Regions from separate parts of the Homo sapiens genome. Here regions 1 and 3 are each linked to region 2. The links are contacts of gene promoters, found by promoter capture Hi-C in blood cells and fetal thymus (Javierre and others, 2016). All regions are on one chromosome and are shown on one strand. Each heading gives the region's core, a stretch centred on a gene start or on the middle of the fragment in contact. The rest is flanking DNA. Distances are from core to core; before and after follow the strand shown.

The links. The method cuts DNA at HindIII sites, captures the fragments that hold promoters and counts their contacts. A CHiCAGO score of 5 or more calls a contact.
Region 1: a fragment that was not itself captured here is called in contact with the fragment with the promoter of SGO1-AS1 in region 2 in 1 of 17 cell types (neutrophils); the score reaches 5.3 in neutrophils.
Region 3: a contact is called between a fragment that was not itself captured here and the fragment with the promoter of SGO1-AS1 in region 2, in 1 of 17 cell types (total CD4 T cells). The highest score is 5.2, in total CD4 T cells.

What each region holds. Positions count from the first base shown.
Region 1 is chr3:20,078,668-20,083,653 of GRCh38, reverse strand. The region is part of intron 2 of KAT2B (lysine acetyltransferase 2B); the gene reads right to left. Among named protein-coding and RNA genes, the nearest start is that of KAT2B, 41 kb to the right of the region's middle. The HindIII fragment of the contact is 3,959 bases long and covers 1-3,413 here.
Region 2 is chr3:20,173,002-20,175,535 of GRCh38, reverse strand. SGO1-AS1 (SGO1 antisense RNA 1) reads right to left here and starts at 1,250. Exons shown (of 4, transcript NR_132785.1): 1 at 1,011-1,250; 2 at 718-801. SGO1 (shugoshin 1) reads left to right here. Exons shown (of 8, transcript NM_001199251.3): 6 at 481-1,287. The HindIII fragment of the contact is 5,926 bases long and covers 1-2,534 here.
Region 3 is chr3:20,107,630-20,112,638 of GRCh38, reverse strand. It overlaps KAT2B (lysine acetyltransferase 2B), which reads right to left. Exons shown (of 18, transcript NM_003884.5): 6 at 852-1,043. Among named protein-coding and RNA genes, the nearest start is that of MIR3135A, 27 kb to the left of the region's middle. The HindIII fragment of the contact is 1,557 bases long and covers 2,701-4,257 here.

The DNA.
Region 1 (4,986 bases), core at 185-2,684, 92 kb after region 2:
GTTCTCTCTGCTGCCAGGGTAGTCTTCCTAAAATACCACTTTCCTTAAACAACCCCATCTCTACCAGATCCAGAGACTACTCCTGGCTCTTTGGGGATGCTGACCAGAATTAGACTTGTTTAACTTATCTCTAGATTTACCAGTCTCCTAATTAATCCCAACCCATGTCAACACCCAGGTGAACCTCACTCTAACTGCAAAGCTAAACTATTTACTATACTGACAATCAATTCATATTAAACCAAAAAGAGTCATTCATTATTAAAAGAAACCCTTCTCTTAACCTTTTATTAAGAAGACTTTTTGATGCAAATAGGCTCCCTTCAATTATCTAAAAGTATGTTTTCTTAAAGAGATAGGCCTCTATTATTTATGAGTCTAGGAGCATATTATTAAAAACTAAAAAATAAAATAAAAATCTATAAACTACAATGCACAAATCTATAGCAGTCAACCTGCCACAAAACTCAAGATATGAAGTCGCTGCTATGTAAAACTTTGATGTATCGCTCCCTAATTTAACCTCCCTCATCAAGATGTGCATCAATGTACACTGTATCAGTAGTGAGAGACTATTCCTTTTTCCTGTGCTCTGCCTACAGTGGAGAACCATCCTCGGTAATTTAACCAATCTTTTGAAAATTAATAAGCACCCCCTACTGTTTTGATCTGCATTCAACGGAAGGCCCAGGGAGTTGTTTGTTTTTCATACTACTGGCTGTTTGTATTTGATCTCCTGTGTACCTGCCAATTTGAGTTCCTTTGCTTGGTTTTTAAGATGTTAGTCTTTTTCTTACCACCTTGAATAAACCTTATGTACTACCTTTAGTCTGCCATACTCATTGCAAATGCTTACGTATTTGGTGGGGAGGGATTTTTGGTTTATTTGGTTTGGTTGTAGAAAAATGTTAATCTTTTTAGAAAGCCATATCTACGTTGGCAGTTCTTTAAGGTTTTGCTTGCAAAGGTTTTTCCTACATAAACAAAAAATAACAAAAAATGTATTTTTCCTAGCTCTTTAAAGAGTTTGTTTTTAAAATTTAAAACATTCCTCCATCAAAATGTCAATGTTATAAAAGTCAACAAATAAAATAAAATGCTGAGGAACTCCAGATTAAAGAAAACTAAAGAGACATGACAACTAAACAGATATGTGATTCTTGAGTGGAGGCTTAATGGAAAGGAAAATATGTTATAAAGAACATTTTTGGGTCAACAGATAAAATTAGAATACAAACAGTAGATTAGATAAAGGTATTATATTAATGTTAAATTTACTAAAGTTGGTAATTGAACTGAGGTTATTAAGAGAAAACCGTGGCCGGGTGCAGTGGCTCAAGCCTGTAATCCCAACACTCTGGGAGGCTGAGGAGGGCGGATCATTTGAGGTCAGTAGTTCGAGACCAGCCTGGCCAACATGATGAAACCCCATCTCTACTAAAAATAAAAAAATTAGCTGGGCATGGTGGCAGGCATCTGTAATCCCAGCTACTTGGGAGGCTGAGGCATGAGAATCATTTGAACCCAGGAGGTGGAGGCTGCAGTAAGCCAAGACTGCACCATTGCACTCCAGCCTGAGCAACAGAGTGGGTCTCCATTTCAAAAAAAGAAAACCTTATTATTAGGAACTGTATATTGAAATATTTAGGGGAGGAAGGGCTATGATATATAAGTAACTTATTCTCATATAGTTCCAGAAAAACAAATTTATACGTAGAGACTCATATATATATATATATGAGACTCTCTATATACATTTATACATATATATATATGAGCCAATGACAGCAAATAAAATAAAATGTTACTAATAGGTAAATCTAGGGAAAGGATTTATGGGATATTCTTCGTTATTATTCTCATGACTTTTATGTAAATTTTTAATTATTTGCAAATTAAAAGTGTTTTTACAATCTTTCCTCCACCTGAATTTGATCATTAAAGAATCCTGCTTTTACTTTAAATAGTCTTCCAAGAGCCTGATACAAAGCATTGATATACACTAATTACCCAAGATTGACCAACCCTTGAGCTGTGGCAAAGTTTATTCCTTTTGGTGGGCCACAGTTCCCCCAGTGTCCACTTTGTGTGAAGGGCACAAGAAAGCAGACAGAAGGTGCAAGTGAGGGGACGAGGGGAGGCTTTGCCTTCTTTAGATCACTCCAGAAGGGTATACCTTGGCACCTCTCAGTGCTGTGTCAGACTTGCAAACACCCAGGGTGCCAGAGAGTGACCCGCCGTGTGACTGCTGCCAAGAATCACGGTGCAGCTGTCAACCTTGCTGAGAACAGGAAGCACACTGTCACTGTGTGCCGTGACCCTCACTAACCTCTGGCTCCGTGTATCATTGGCCTGCACTTCTCGTGAAGACAGTCAGCCAGTCCTCACATGCCCTGCAGTGTGAACAGGCAGCAGCTGGGCAGGCAGCTAACATGTCCCTGCTCCTCTGGACCAGAAGCAAATAACACAATAGGATTTGAAGGCTGCTCAAATACATTTTTTGTTCATGGGAATTTGGCATCGAGGCTAGAAGAGGTAAAATTAATGACTACAATGAAATCTGTCAAATTGACTAATGTGCAAAAGGCTTATCATTTAAAAGTGGTTTCATTTTCTGTAATCTCAGATCTGGAATGAAAAAAAAGAGAAGCCTAAGAGTAAGAGCCCATTAGATGAGAGCAGTCCAGTAGAAATATAATGCAAGCCACATATGTAAATTTAAGTATTCCAGTAGCTGTGTTTAAAAAGACAAAAGAAGCAGGTGAAATTCATTAAATAATATATTTTATTTAACCTAATATATACCAAAGTATTATTCTTTCAATACGTATGCAATATTAAAAGTTACTATTTACATTCCTCTTCTTGTACTAAGTCTTCAAAACCTGTGTGCATTTCACGCTTACAGCACAATTCAAACTAGTGAAATTGCAAGTGTTCAATAGCCACACATGGCTAGTGGCTACTGTGTTGGACACAGCAGGTATAGATTATAAACTTTGAAAGCTCCTCTGCAAATATATGCAACCAGCCCTCATTTTACCATTATTGAATTCAATGACTATTTACCAACAAAAGAATAAGCACAATTATGCACAACGAACTAAATATATTACAAACTAGAGAAAAAGTCAACTCTTAATCACAGTTCAGTACAGATTGGTATATAATTATAGTTATATAAGAAGGAACATTGCCACAGAGCTCTAAGAAGGCCTTTATTCTCTCTACAGAGTTCTGCAGTCAAGCCTTGGAGGATAAGCAGAATTCCCTGGCAGAAAATGAAGGAAAGGCATTGAAGGTGGTGTGAGCTTCCAGATCTAAGGCAGAGGTGGGAGAAAGTTCAAAGAACCTTTGGAGAACATGGAGCAGCCTGATGGCCAAAATGCAATGAAGATAATTGGAGAAAAGCTTTGAAAATAAAGAGGCCTCAATGAACTGAACCTGCTTGCTCAACTACAGATCACCCTTCACTCTGAGGATAATGAGAAGCTCAGAGGGGTTAAGCAGGAGAATGGGATCACATTGTATCATCACTTTATGGGAAAGCCAGGTATGCAGGAATGGAAATAAGAACTCCAGAAGCTGCAGCAGACACAGGCAAGGAATAATGAGGAAAAGCCTAAATTCAGCCAGTGCTAGAGGCAGGAACTTGAAGGGAGTATCAAACAGGATTTCATGACCAGAGGACGTCAGGGAGACATAACTTATACCAAATGAGCAGAGAAAATATTACCAGTATTATCCCCTTAACTCCTGCTGTGCCCGACCCACAGCTCCTGAAAACTCTGAAACCGGCATCTGAAAGGCTGCATTAGCCAGCAGTGGACATCCAGCCAAGAGGAATATGCTGGCTCAATTCAGGAGGCTGTGTCATTGTGCTAGCTGGGCCCCATGTTTACGTCCTTTGGCATCTGCACAGTACATGTATAAATGGGAACTGAGGGGGCAATTATATGGTACAAGTCTATGCAAATGTCGTATGATCAAAGAAAATGTGTTGAGTCAAATGATCTGCCTAAATGATTTAAATACTTGAAATATCCATGAGAAAAATACTGGTATTTTCTTCATAATACTCAAGAAGTAAGCTCTAGTGTGATTGTTAAAGCTAACTCTTGACCTTCCTTAAAAATCTCTGGGAGTCTCAGGCCAGAAGCGGTGGCTCACGCCTGTAATCCCAGCATTTGGGGAGGCTGAAGCGGGCAGATTACCTGAGGTCAGGAGTTTGAGACCAGCTTGGTCAACATGATAAAACCCGTCTCTACTAAAAACACAAAAATTAGCCGGGCATGGTGGTGGGTGCCTGTAATCCCAGCTACTTGGGAGGCTGAAGCAGGAGAATAGCTTGAACCTGGGAGGCAGAAGTTGCAGTGAGCCGAGATTGCACCATTGCACTCCAGCCTGGGTGACAGAGCCAGACTCTGTGGCAAAAAAAAAAAAAAAAAAAAGAGGCCAGGTGTGGTGGCTCATGCCTGTAATCCCAGCACTTTGAGAGGCCGAGGCGGGTGGATCACCTGAGATCAGGAGTTTGAGACCAGCGTGGCTAACTTGGCAAAATCCACTCTCTACTAAAAAATAATAATAATAATAATTATAAAAATTAGCTGGGTGTGGTGGTATAAGCCTGTAATCCCAGCTACCTGGGAAGCTGAGGCAGGAGAATTGCTTGAACCTGGGAGGCGGAAGTTGCAGTGAGCTGAGATCGTGGAGATCGCGCCACTGCACTCCATCCTGGGCAACAGAGTGAGACTCCTTCTCAAAAAAAAAAAAAAAGCTCTGGGAGTCTCTTTGAATCAATTCTGGTTGTAGGGTGAGGGGTCTGCCTAACTCAAAATTTTAAAAGTTAACAGAAAAGAAATTCCCTACTGTAAACAAGCAGAAAAGCAAGGAATCTATAGTGACAAAAAACAGTCAGTTCCCACTGCTGAATGTGTACATATATATATACATATATATACACATATATCAGAAAAAGATGATGAA
Region 2 (2,534 bases), core at 1-2,500:
CGTAAGCCACCGTGCCTGGCCTATAATGTTTTTAAAGATTATAAAGATTGAATGTCCCTTATCCAAAATGCTTGGGACCAGAAGTGTTTTGGATTTATTTTTTAAATTTTGGAGTATTTACATTATATCAGTTCATCATCCCTAATTTGAAAATCTGAAATCCAAAACCCTCCAGTTAGCATTTCCTTGGAGCATCATGACTGCACTAAAAAAGTTTTGGATTTCAGATTTTCAGATTAGGGATACTGAACCTGTACAAGATTCTTTCACATGTCAGATATAAGCCATCAGTTGATCACTGACAAGTAAATAGATGGTAATATTTAAGTTCCCAGGTTTTTATTTACAGATTTTATAATGTAGGAAAACTACAGAATGACCTTTTGGTCATTCACTTTTTTAGTTTGAATTCTAAAGTTCTTGAAATTCAAATTTCCACAAAGTAAAACTACTTTTCTCATTTATTTTTTAAATTCTCAGATCAGATACCTACTATTCCTCAAGACACACTGGGAGTTGATTTTGATTCAGGTGAAGCTAAGTCTACTGATAATGTCTTACCTAGAACTGTATCTGTTCGTAGCAGTTTAAAGAAACATTGTAACAGTATATGTCAGTTTGATAGCTTGGATGATTTTGAAACCAGTCATTTGGCAGGGAAGTCTTTTGAATTCGAAAGAGTTGGATTTTTAGACCCACTAGTAAACATGCACATACCTGAAAATGTACAACACAATGCTTGTCAATGGAGCAAGGACCAAGTTAACTTATCACCAAAGCTGATTCAGCCAGGAACGTTTACTAAAACAAAAGAAGACATTTTAGAATCTAAATCTGAACAAACTAAAAGTAAGCAAAGAGATACACAAGAAAGAAAAAGAGAAGAGAAAAGAAAAGCTAACAGGAGAAAATCAAAACGTATGTCAAAATATAAAGAGAATAAAAGCGAAAATAAAAAAACTGTTCCCCAAAAAAAAATGCACAAATCTGTCAGTTCCAATGATGCTTACAATTTTAATTTGGAAGAGGGTGTTCATCTTACTCCTTTCCGACAAAAAGTGAGCAATGACTCTAATAGAGAAGAAAACAACGAGTCTGAAGTGAGCCTCTGTGAATCAAGTGGTTCAGGAGATGATTCCGATGACCTCTATTTGCCCACTTGCAAGTACATTCAGAATCCCACGAGCAATTCAGATAGACCAGTCACCAGGCCTCTAGCTAAAAGAGCACTGAAATACACAGATGAAAAAGAGACGGAGGGTTCTAAGCCAACAAAAACTCCTACCAGTAAGTGATCTACTTGTTTACCTGTATTTTTAATGTTCGTGATAAATGATCACTCCTGATGCTTATATACTATACTTACCATCTGTTTCTCTGGTGGAGGTTGGAGACTTACCATCTGTCTCTCTTTGGTGGAAGTTATGGTCTGATTAAACAGTGGGGGGCTGGGTGTGGAAATCACAGTTGTATTGCTCTGACCTAATTCAGAGATTGCTTGTTATGGAGACAGAATTTTTATTTTCAGTAAATTAGGACTCCCAAGGGGACAGAGGGACTTTTTTGTAGACTTAGGTTGAATTGAAGTAGCTTTTATACACTTAACTGAAGTATCCCCTTGAAAGTGAAATCAAATTTGAATCCAGTGACTTGTTATTTTAATGGCCTTGTTTTATATTAAATTTGACAGGAACCGTGATTTAAAATAATCTTCTAGTTAGTGAAGATTTCCTCAATTGATAGGCTTAGTATTCTTTTGTACGACATCTCTAAAAACTGGCTCAGAAAATATTTTATTAGATCAAAAGTAGGCATAGTTCAAATGTTCGTAATACAACCTACACCTGTCCACAAAGATTCTCATTTGGCAATTTTAGTTAATACAAGTAAAACTAACATTTATAGTCAAGTTGTATCATTTTCAAAATATTGTCACATCATTTTATTTGATCCTCAGAACAATTCTGTGAAGTATAGGTGTTATGATGCTTATTTTGTTTGTAAGGAGATTAAAACCTTAAAAACCAAACCAACTTTCTAAATCGGCCAGTTAGTCAGTGGTAGCAGGCAAGTATCTTTTTTAAAAATATGCTGTAAGCCGGGCGGGTTGGCTCACGCCTGTAATCCCAGCACTTTGGGAGGCTGAGGTGGGCGGATCACCTGAGGTCAGGAGTCCAAGACCAGCCTGGCCAACATGGTGAAACCCCATCTCTACTAAAAATACAAAAAAATGAGCCAGGCCTGGTGGTATGTGCCGGTAATCCCAGCTACTCGGGAGGCTGAGGCAGGAGAAAAAGAATTGCTTGTACCCAGGAAACAGAGGTTGCAGTGAGCCGAGACCATGCCATTGCGCTCCAGCCTAGGCAACAAGAGCGAAACTCAGTCTCAAAAAAAAAAAAAGCAAAAATGCTATAATGATGTTAGAATAAATCAAACATGATTGTCAAAGTGTTGATAATTATTGGACCTGGGTAACTCAGAGTTTATTATACTGTTATTGCCATCTTTGTGTACATTTAAAAATGTCCAGAAAA
Region 3 (5,009 bases), core at 2,230-4,729, 65 kb after region 2:
AAGCGCTGATCTAGGCGGAATGATAATCACAGAATGAACTGTCTCATTCATTTCTCGCTGTTACTGCTCCATGAGAAGTCATCAACTGCACCCTTGGCCTATCCCACCAGCATCCAACCGCTTAGCTTAAATTTTTGGTTTTTAGCATTAAAAATGCATTTCCAAGGCCAATGGTGCAGCACTGCAACTTTCTATTGCTTTGCAGCATTTCCTTCCATTTAAAATATTTAAATGATCATTTATGCCTTGGAGCTCTGACAGGTGCAAGAAGCAAGGAGCACCAAAGTATGCCTATTCTACAAGAAATTTAGTATAGAGGTTCATCACGCTGAAGGAGCTCTCTATTCCTCTTCATCCCTGCTTTTGCAGTCTAGTTTCCAAAGAGTGGGGGCAAGTCTACTATAGCTGAGGCAGGGATGGTTCACCAGTGCTTGGAAAAAGTTGGAGAAATTGAACGGAAAAAAAAAAAAAAGCCACTTGAGCTCTTTTGCACCATTTCTGAGTGGCTGGAAAATGTACCTAAACATTCTCCCTCATCGTCCTAGAGCTTCCTGGCCGCTGAATATACAAAAGAAAGCACTGCCCCATTCTATGTGAGTCAGAGACAATGACTCAGGTAGGACGAGGAGGGGATAAGGGAGCAATGACGGCAGTCAACCCAAAGTCAGGCTAATAAATGGACTGGAAAATACCCAAGAAGATTCACAAAGGGAACTGAGGGTCTTTTCTCCCATCCCCTTGGAATGTTTCTTCTGTCATTTCCGATCTTGTTATTTATGCAGGCTTTGGCATTGTATTTAGCAACCTCAAGCTCTGGGATCAAACAAAGACCAGCAAAAACTCTCCCTTACTTTGGGAAATGAGTGAGGATTAGAGTTCGTTTTTCAAGAGGCAGTTTATCTTTTTCCTGTCTTGCTTGTTCCAGGAGTTGTCGCCTCATAACAGTGAAGACCGAGCGAAGCAATGTTCTCCCAAACACCTGTGTGGTTTCGTACCGAGGTAGACTGTCGCAGAACTGTGGCACGTTGCAGTAACACAGCCACCTGTGACAAGAGAAGTCAAGCACCATCAATATCCCATAAACCCCCAGGTCATCAGAAATATTCAATTATGTTTATCTCGTACTATTAACTATAGCAGAAAAAAACTAGGCCTGCAATAACAAGCAACAATATCCCTGCCAGCTAGTGAAACTTGGGAATGCAATTAGATTACCCTTACATCACCACTTGTGTCTAATTCTGTTAAAATCACCTTATTCTGCAGCATCATACAGTGAGTCCTGGAATGAAACAGCCCCTGGGATCAAATTCCAGCTGTGTCACTTAACTAGCTGCATAACTTTGAAAATTTGATTACGCTATTTAGCCTTTCCTTCCTTACCTGTAAAATGGGGACAACAATAATACCTACTTCATTGGGTTCTTGTGAGCATTAAATGAAATACTGTATATAAAATGCATAGTATAACTGGAGTTACTGGCACATTAATGGTAGTTTAGATAAAAGAAAAAATTAAAGGAGAAGCTGAGGAAGACCCTTTTGTGAAAGAATCAGAATTAACCACCTAGTCCTTTGAGTAAAATGTAAGATTTATTTAAAATGCCTACACAGCACTTATCGGAGGTTTGGTGGGAAGATAATGATCTTCAGGACTGTTTAAAACTCAGTCAAAAATGTAGGAAGTATTAAGCTTCTACCATTTGTCGCCTAGGTACATTTTTCAACGACTCAGACTCAAAGTCAAAAATGCACCTCAGCATCACTGCACGACGCTGGAGGAGGACCCAGACCAGAGGGAAGCCAGGACTTTTCTTGAGATGTGACCACAGTTCTAGGGTACACTGACAATACAGGTCATCTAATTTAGAAAGTGCATTCGGCCAACATACAGTGGAGAGTAAAAGTCTATTCAAAAATAAACCTCTTTTTCTTTCTTTTTCTTTCTTTTTTTTTTTTTTTTTTTGAGACAGGGTCTCACTGTGTCACCAAGGCTGGAGTGCAGTGGTACAATCTCGGCTCACTGCAACCTCTACCTCCTGGGCTCAAGTGACCCTCCTACCTCAGCCTGCCAAACAACTGGGACCACAGGCATGCACCACCACATGTGGCTAATTTTTTCTTATTTTTTGTAAAGACGGGGTTTCACTATGTTGCCCAGGATTGTCTCGAACTCCTGGACTAAAGAGATCCACCCACCTCGGCTTCCCAAAGTGCTGTGATTACAGGCATGAGCTACCAAACTGAGACAACCCTATTTTTTTTTTATCTCCCAGAAGTGAAGATGTGAATTTCCCAGGACCCAAAAACATAAATATAACAGTGGTAGCCATGGAGGGTGGCACCAAACGAGGAAAAGGTCAAAAAGCATTATTCCACAGATTCTTATTCCTTCAGAGCAGACCCAAATCATCCTCTTCTAGGAAAGGACTGCCTTCCAAAAATCAAACCTCTCCTCCCTATGTGCTTTCCTGTTCTCCTTTCAAATGGGAGACAGCTTTCTAATGCGCCCAAGCTGCTACAAAAAGCTCCCAATGAACTTTGAGCCCTTTAATGAAGAGAGGAATAATATTAATTTATTCATGCTCCTGACTTTTTTTTTTAAATCTTATTCTGCATTATAAAATATTTTGCCTGTATGTGTGCTAGTGGTGGAAATGGTGGTGGCTGTGGCAGTGGTTCACCTTTGGAGAAAAAGCTTTCATTAGTGTTAGTTCATCTGCCTACATTAAAAATTAACCTAAAATTTCTGCTACTATTTCTATGTCTTCTCTCAACTTTTTTCCTTTAATAATTTACACCCAAATGTTGTTTATGTTTACAATACTGAAATGGGTATCTTAAGTGTTAATGTTGTCTTTTGTCTGAAACAGTGATCTTGGTAGCAGAAAAAAATTATAAAGTGCATTTATTTTGTAATTCATAAGGTGCTTCATATAGAAATTCATTGCTTTCAAAGCCAATTGTTTGCTAGATGTTAGTCTGTGGCCACTTAATTAAGTTAAAAGAATGGGCTGGCTAGGCATGGCATGGTGGCTTACACCAGTCATCCCAGTGCTTTGGAAGGCCCAAGCAGGAAGATCGCTTGAGCCCAGGAGTTCAAGACCAGCCTGGGCAACATAGTAAGACGCCCATCTCTACAAAAAGTTTAAAAATCAGCCAGATGTATTGGCACATACCTATATTCCTAGCTACTTGGGAGGCTGAGGAGGTAGGATCACTTGAACCTAGGAGTTCTAGGCTGCTGTGAGCTATGATTGTGCCACTGCAATGCAGCCTGGGTGACAGAGTGACAGAATGAGACACTGACATGCTATCTATCTATCTATCTATCTATCTATCTATCTATCTATCTGGGGCTGAGGGGAAGTCAGATCAAATAACTAGTAATGAAACCATAGAGTTAAACAGTCACAGATCTTCATAATCAGAAGTTCAATTTCGTGAGACTTAGGCAATCACAAGACTATCTGTAAGAATTAATATGGTCATGTCTTTCATGTCTTGCTTAACAACGGGAATACATTCTGAGAAATGAGTCAGGTGATTTTATCATTGTGCAAACACTGGAGAGTGTACCTACACAAACCTAGATGGTAGAACCTACTACACACTTGGCACCTAGGCTCTATGGCAGAGGTCCCCAACTTTTTTGGCACCAGGGATTGCTTTCATGAGAGACAATTTTTCCATGGCTGGGGGTAGAAGGGATGGTTTCCAGATGAAACTGTTCCACCTCAGATCATCAAGCATTAGACTCTCAGAAAGAATGTACAGCTTAGATCCCTCACATGCACAGTTCACAATAGAGTTCAGGCTCCTATGAGAATCTAATGCCACCACTGATCTGACAGGAGGTGGAGCTCAGGCTGTAATGCTCACTCGCCCACCACTCACTTCCTGCTGTGCAGCCCGGTTCCTAATGAGCCACGGACCTATGGTGGACCATGGCCCAGGGGTGGGGGACCCCTGCTCTATGGTCTAGTCTATTGCTCTTAGGCTGCAAACCTCTACAGCATATTACTGTACTGAATACTACAAACGACTGTAACATAATGGTAAGTATTTGTATATCTAAATATACCTAAACATGGAAAGGTACAGCAAAATTTTGGCATAATCTTAAAGGACTACTGTCATTATATGTGGTCCATTGCTGACTAAAATGTTGTTATGCAGATCCTAAATTTTAAAAATAACAAAATATGTCCAATCTTCTGCAATGAAAGGTTTAAAGATTTATTGTCCAATAAAGCTTTCACTGATGATGGGGATGATTCTATGTCTCTGCTATCCAATACAGTAGCCACCAGCCATTGGTAACTATTGAGCACTTGAAATGTGGCTAGTATGACTGAGTTTAACTTTTAATTTTATTTAATCAATTTCAATTTTACTTTTAAATGGAAACAGTGTAAAATGTTTTCCCATTAAACACAACTTGATTGTTCTAGTAGGACTCCATTTAGTTTTAATTGTTTAAAATTTAGCTACTGAATTAAGATGTGTGAAAAATACACACTGGATTTGGCCGGGTGCAGTGGCTCACACCTGTAATCCCAGGACTTTGGGAAGTTGAGGCAGGTGGATTACCGGAGGTCAAGAATTCAAGACCAGCCTGGGGAACATGATGAAACCCCATCTCTACTAAAAAATATAAACATTAGCCAGGCATGGTGGCAGGCGCCTGTAGTCCCAGCTACTTGGCAGCCTGAGGCAGGAGAATCGTTTGAACCTGGGAGGCGAAGGTTGCAGTGAGCTCAGATCATACCACTGCACTCCAGCCTGGGAAACACAGCAAGACTCCAACTCAAAAAAAAAAAAAAAAAAAAGGAAAAAGCAAAATAAACACTGGATTTGGAGGTTTGAAGGACTCAGTACTAAGAAAGTAAGTATACATCCTTAATAATTTTTCACAATGGTTACATGGTGAAATTATATTTTTGTGGGTTTTTTGTTTTTGTGGTTTTTTTTTTTTTTTTGAGACATAGTATTGCTCTGTGCCCCAG